2 separate regions of the Homo sapiens genome follow, and region 2 is linked to region 1. The links are contacts of gene promoters, found by promoter capture Hi-C in blood cells and fetal thymus (Javierre and others, 2016). All regions are on one chromosome and are shown on one strand. The core of a region is centred on a gene start or on the middle of the fragment in contact, and the rest is flanking DNA. Distances in the headings are between cores, read along the strand shown.

Region 1 (3,282 bases), core at 629-3,128:
TGGATGCACGGTTCCAGCATGTTCTCGTCACGAACCACAAGCCCACCAGAGGGCGCTGGTTCCCCGTCTACCTACTGTTCTCCATCAGCGACTCAGAAAATCCAGGTTAAACACTCAGGCAGTCTTTCACATTTAATCCACAAATATTTACCGAGAATTTGACGTGCCACCAGGCGCGGGGCTAGGTTCACAAGATACAGTAGTGAGTTAGGCACGATTCCTACTACCAGAAGCTTAGAGCATAGGGAAGACTAAAAGTAAGCCACCGTCTACAATAGTAGGATAAGTGGAGAGTTTCTAGGTCCGTGGAGTTTGTTGTTGAATATCTGCTCCAGGCCTTAGAAGCCGGCAGCAATTCACTAAAAGATCCCGGACTTGTCTGCTCTGTATCCCAGCCAAGGAGCTCCGTCCCCAAGGTGTTTTGTTAGAGTCAGAGACCTCTCCTTGGGTGATTCCATTCGTCAGCCCCACAAGTCCCCGTCTCTGGCCTTTTTCAGGGTCTCCGGCAGCTCTCTGACAGTTCCCCTTCTGTCTCAGGTCGACACTTATTCCAAGGACCAGGGATTACTCACAACTATCCGCCAGAGTTTGCTCCGCCCTTTCTTTTTCCTGTTTAAAATCCGCGGGCTCTTAGTGTTCTCGGTTCCTAGATTTCCTGTTCTGATTCTCGCGACAGTTGCGAGGCCTCGCGTGAAGTTCCCTTCTAGTCCCTATTTCGAATTTGAGACCGGGAGAGAGTGTCTGCCCTTGCCCACCTCCTCAGAACCCCTCTGGCCAGGGATGGCGCCTACGTGGCTCGGGAGCCCCTGAATGAATGGGCTTGGCCCAACTTAGGGGCGCATTCCGACGGGAGAGTCCTGGCTGTATTCCGAGGCTCCAGTGCGCATGCGGAGTCGATCCCGCGCAGGCGGGCGGGGACGGCAGCCGGGTCTTGTGGGCGGAGCCTGACTAAGTGCCGCCCCCTTGCCGGCTGCAGATTGCTATTTCTGCCCCCCACCCTCGCCCATCCCCCCGCGAGCTGGACTGCGCCAAGGCTTCTGTGAGCCGCTTGGGGCCGGCCGGGGCGGGGCCTGCCCGACCCGGGTTTGGCTGGCGGGCCCCTAGGAATGCTCTCCTCCCCGCCCCCGGCCCAAAGTGCCACGGTGGCGGTGGTGGCGGCCGCGAGGCCGAGTGTCTCCGGCCCTGCCAGCCTCGCAACCGTAACCTGTAATCCCGACCCGAGGGACGCCCGCCGGGGAGGCGCCAGCCCGCCTCTCCCTGCGGCCGCTGGTCGGCTCCGACCTCGAATCACCCGGCTCACCCGCGGGTCGCAGCACCTGCCGGATGTGGGGAGGAAGAAGGAGGCCAGATGAGGGAAGGCGGATGTAGGCGCCCAGTCTGTCCGCGCCTTGGTGGGGCAGCTGGGTGGGCAAGCCTGCGGTCGCTCCCGGGAACCAGCCCTGGGCTGCGGGGAGACGAAGGTGGTTGGTCCTGCCCTCCAGGAGCGCCCCGACATCGACGTAAAATGACTTGGCACCAGAGCTCCTGCCGCCTCCCCCTTATGCAGCTGCCCTCGCCGACGCCAGGGACTGTAAAATCAGATGGGACAGGGCCTAGCCGTTCAGCCAACACTTTGAGCTTCCCAGCCAAACTCCTACCCCCACTCCCCGCCTCCGGTCCTCACCCCCTTCCTCTCTCCCAGCCTCGGTGTCTGGTTACGGCTCCTCTGCTCGCATTGTGACTTTGGGCCAGGCTGGGGGAAATGACCCGGGAGGGTCCCATGCGGCTACATAAAATTGGCAGCCTTAGAACTAGTGGGAAGGCGGGTGCGCGAAGTCGAGGGGCGGAGAGAGGGGGCCGGAGGAGCTGCTTTCTGAATCCAAGTTCGTGGGCTCTCTCAGAAGTCCTCAGGACGGAGCAGAGGTGGCCGGCGGGCCCGGCTGACTGCGCCTCTGCTTTCTTTCCATAACCTTTTCTTTCGGACTCGAATCACGGCTGCTGCGAAGGGTCTAGTTCCGGACACTAGGTGAGCACTCTGTGCCCCAGGCCATAAGCGAGGCGGCATCAGCCCCCCCAGTTCTCACCCCCCATTAGCAGCTTCTTACTTCTGGAGCCACCCATTCTCTTTGGGCAAGGATGCTCAGGGGCCAGGGATCGGAGTCGGGTGGTGCACGGAAGTGGTGCTGGTGGTGGGTGTGCGTGCGCCTGAGCCTTATCACCCTTTCCTCACCTCTCTTCACTCCCAGCCCTCCCAAGAACAGCCCAACTGATTGCTAACTGCCATAACTGGATAATCCCTAGAGGGTCACTAGGCCTGTGTGTTGGGGGAGGCTACTTGGTAGCAGGGGAGGGGGCGATGCTAGTGTCATGCTTTGGTACAAGAAGCAGTGAGGTTGGTCTTTCGGCACAGGCCCTGTTTCTGACCTCCTGACCTGGCTTCCCTTCCTGGCAGGGTGCCCGAACGCGCTGATGCCCCGAGTGCTCGCAGGGCTTCCCGCTAACCATGCTGCCGCCGCCGCGGCCCGCAGCTGCCTTGGCGCTGCCTGTGCTCCTGCTACTGCTGGTGGTGCTGACGCCGCCCCCGACCGGCGCAAGGCCATCCCCAGGCCCAGATTACCTGCGGCGCGGCTGGATGCGGCTGCTAGCGGAGGGCGAGGGCTGCGCTCCCTGCCGGCCAGAAGAGTGCGCCGCGCCGCGGGGCTGCCTGGCGGGCAGGGTGCGCGACGCGTGCGGCTGCTGCTGGGAATGCGCCAACCTCGAGGGCCAGCTCTGCGACCTGGACCCCAGTGCTCACTTCTACGGGCACTGCGGCGAGCAGCTTGAGTGCCGGCTGGACACAGGCGGCGACCTGAGCCGCGGAGAGGTGCCGGAACCTCTGTGTGCCTGTCGTTCGCAGAGTCCGCTCTGCGGGTCCGACGGTCACACCTACTCCCAGATCTGCCGCCTGCAGGAGGCGGCCCGCGCTCGGCCCGATGCCAACCTCACTGTGGCACACCCGGGGCCCTGCGAATCGGGTACGCATGGCCCGGGGCCCCCACCCCAGCACTTAGGTTTCCTAGAGGCACTGCTCCCCGACCCCTGACAGCATTGGTCTCTGGCCAGCAGAGCAAAAAAGATAAGGCTATAGAGGCCTCGAGTCCAGTATAAAACCCTGCTCTCGCTACTGGTTCATAAAAGCTGCCACCTTAAGGTGGGGGTGGGGGGTGGAGTGGAGTGGGAGTCCCGGGCTTCGTCAGCAAGCTGCATTCGCTGAACCACGTGAAAGCTCCAGAGCTGGCTGGCAGGGAGAGACAGGTCCTCTGA
Region 2 (3,392 bases), core at 395-2,894, 750 kb after region 1:
AAAAAGTTCCTGGCCAGGACTGGAATTCCAGTTACTTGGGAGGCTAGGGCAGGAGAACTGCTTGAATCCAGGAGGCGGAGGCTGCGGTGAGCCAAGATCCGCGCCATTGCATTCCAGCCTAGGTGACAGAGCAAAACTCTCTCTCTCAAAAAAAGTTCCACATACAATGATATAATCAAAGGGACCAAAAAATGCCTGAAACCACATTCCCAAGAAATTCAACAGCCTAACTGGCCCAAACAACAAACTCTCACGCAATCTTAATTACAGAGCAAAGATCTGAACAAATGAAAATTCAAGAATATTACTTCTGGTCCTTAAACGGAAAGGAATAAACAAAGAAAACTCAAGAATGTCCCCAGAGTATCCTCTAAGAGGACAAAACACTAGTTATGCACACACTGCAGAAAACAAACTCGCAGACCGATAACCTAAATGGTTGAATAAGCATCAAACTGGTATCTGGAACTCCCTAGTGTGCTCATCACAGCTCAAACCACACACTTTACATCTTGTCTAACCTTTACTTTCCACTTGTCTCAGTCTAATCATCAGTAAGAGATAAGGACAGCCTCTCAAGAGTACCATGAAGAAGGTTAATAAAAGCATTCTGAACACAAAATGTTCTACATAAACCCACACAATCTACATAAGAGACTAGTCTAAAACAAATTTCTGCAATGTATTTTAGCTCCAATCTCTAGGCAGAATGACTCCTCTGCACCACAAAAAGGACAATGACAGACCAAATTAAAATTCATTACATACCAATGTATAACTGTAGCACTTTCATCTGGACAATCTAATGTTAGCCTCTCACAAGTGATACAAAATATTCTTTTTTTTTTTTCTCAGGCGGAATCTCACTCTGTCGCCCAGGCTGGAGTGCAGTGGCACTATCTCGGCTCAATGCAATCTACGCCTCCAACTCCCGGGTTCAAGCGATTCTCCTGTCTCAGCCTCCCGAGTAGTTGGGATTACAGGAGCCCGCCACCACGCCCGGCTAATTTTTTCTATTTTTAGTAGAGACAGGGTTTCGCCATGTTGGCCAGGCTAGTATCGATCTCCTGACCTCGTGATCCGCCCGCCTCGGCCTCCCAAAGTGCTGGGATTACAGGCGTGAGCCACCGCGCCCGGCCAATATAAAATATTCTTGATCAGGCAGACCTATACAAGTCTTTAGCATCCCTACGGCACTTAGCATTATCATTTTTTTTTTAAGGAGTAGGCATTAAACATCCTTTCAGAGTTGCTCCAATATAAAAAAAGACTTTTCAAATGTCTAGCTTAATTAAACATTTTAATCTTTAGAAACCCTACCTTGGCTCTTTTGAGAGTCAGGTTCATGGTTTCGGTTGACTGGCACCACAAAGAGGAAGCAATGCTGTTAATGTAAGTTAAAAACCAAGAGAGTTTTGTGATGGAAAGAAAACAAAAAAGAAATCCTAGCAGTAACTATAGTATTTCTATGCTCATTCATTTTACGGCTGGTGCCAACCAAGAGGTATCAAAAAGAGAGAAAAAAAAAAAAAAAAAAAAAAAAAAAGCCAGGCGCGGTAGTTCACGCCTGTAATCTTAGCACTTTGGAAGACCGAGGCGGGCGGACTGCCTGAGCTCCGTAGGTGGAAACCTGCCTGGGCAACACGGTGAAACCCGTTTCTACTAAAATACAAAAAATTAGCCGGGCCCGTGTCTGCAGTCCCAGCTACTTGGGAGGGTGAGGGAGGAGAATTGCTCGAACCCGGGAGGCGGAGGTTGCAGTGAGCCGCGATCACGCCACTGCACTCCAGCCTGGGCGACAGAGCGAGACTCCGTCTCCCAAAACAAAAACAACAAAACACACAAAAAATCAGTGCTGGCTCAGGTGCTCAGTCACTAAGAAAATATACAAGGGCACGGGAGGGAGGAGGAATAAACGAGAGAATGGCAGACAACTCTGTTCTTTAAATAGGAAGAATCGCCTTTTAATGCTATTCTAAACAAACGAATTTAAACCAAATGAGTTTTCTCCTTTTATAACTGAAGGTATAATGGACTGGCAAGTTTCCTTAGACTCATTCCAGTCTAGCTCCGAAATTTCCCAGCACTCTCTCATCCCCACTCCAAGATCTTTGATAACAAAAACCAGATTCTTTTTCTAAAATCTCCCTGCACTCAAGCCAATAAATACAACGATATAAGTCACACAATGCAATCATTTTTGATGAATACTATATAGCAGTTTTCCATTCTGTAATCCCCCAAATTCTGCAAGACAGTTAACTTCGCTGAACTCTTTCATGCCTTACTGTAGCAGCAAAGTAGCCTGTTATGGTCTGTACCATAACCACCACCCATTTTTCGAAAGAATACTCTAATTTATATGGTGAAAAAAAACAGAAAAGCTGATGTTCTCAACGTCGAGAGCAATCCTTTTTCCATACCTTTTTGGTTTTTTAAATATATATATTTTTTACCCTTATCCACGCCATTACATACGAGAGAGATATAAAACAGACATCTAGGAAACTCTGAATCGGCCAAAATACTTCAGAAAATTCAAATACATGCTGTAACTGCGGAAAGACTAATAATGTAACCGATTCGTGCCTCTACAGAGCTGCAAGGTGGACTATCTGTCCATTCTCATCCAGAAACTGAAACAAGCATCTGGTAATTTTCCCTCACTACCAAAAAGTCCATCGTTCTTTTCGACTGTAAATGGGAAAAAAGGCGAGAAGGGCATTTTTAAAGCCGCTTCTGCGGTCACTAAATTCCAATTACGCATCTCAGATACTTCGAGAATCTGTGATTAAAGCCAAAGTTTCATCCCTCGAGAGCAAAGTACAGTAGCTGGGAAAGAGGGCAATTTTCTAAGTTGCAAATGAATCTTTGCGGGGGTGGGGGGAAGCAACAAAAATATTCTAAGCCAAGTGGAACTTGAAATACTATAGGCCAAACGTGCTTCTCTTCACTCCAGAAGTACAAGCACGTCAGTGTGGGCCGATTTTCCACAAAGGGTGGTGACAGAAGCACTACACATATTTTTTCACTGGAACCAGACAACCCTAGGGAATAAGATCCCAAGGTACAAAGAAGTAGAACTCAGAGGCTAACAGAACACCAGGCTCTTAACCACCGCCTCCTTAGGAGGTGGCCTGGCTCCAAGCCCAAGACGGGTGGGGTCAGACTTGTGAGTGGCCAGGGGGGAATTCGACGCCGTCTTAAGACGTGCAAGGAGATTCGCCCAACATCTCGTCTCTCCCCTCGCTTTAGGAGGGCCACATTTCAGACCCAGAGGCTTTCCGGCCTTTTAGAGTCTCCAAAATCCCCGCCACCACCCTCCTCCCGAGGACAGAACGTGTTAGTGCCAAAACGGGGAGGGAAGGAGGGCGCTCACCTTCCACCACACC

What was found. The method cuts DNA at HindIII sites, captures the fragments that hold promoters and counts their contacts. A CHiCAGO score of 5 or more calls a contact.
Region 2: a contact is called between a fragment that was not itself captured here and the fragment with the promoter of KAZALD1 in region 1, in 1 of 17 cell types (erythroblasts). The highest score is 7.1, in erythroblasts.

Annotation. Positions count from the first base shown.
Region 1 is chr10:101,060,111-101,063,392 of GRCh38, forward strand. It overlaps KAZALD1 (Kazal type serine peptidase inhibitor domain 1), which reads left to right and starts at 1,879. Exons shown (of 5, transcript NM_030929.5): 1 at 1,879-2,005; 2 at 2,432-2,993. The coding sequence starts at 2,483. It overlaps LOC107984262 (a long non-coding RNA gene), which reads right to left and starts at 641. Exons shown (of 2, transcript XR_001747569.3): 1 at 1-641. RefSeq lists enhancers at 522-816, 1,743-2,631 and silencers at 944-1,363, 2,544-2,593. The HindIII fragment of the contact is 11,916 bases long and covers 232-3,282 here.
Region 2 is chr10:101,814,445-101,817,836 of GRCh38, forward strand. It overlaps OGA (O-GlcNAcase), which reads right to left. Exons shown (of 16, transcript NM_012215.5): 1 at 3,380-3,392. Among named protein-coding and RNA genes, the nearest start is that of OGA, 2.3 kb to the right of the region's middle. The HindIII fragment of the contact is 4,868 bases long and covers 1-3,392 here.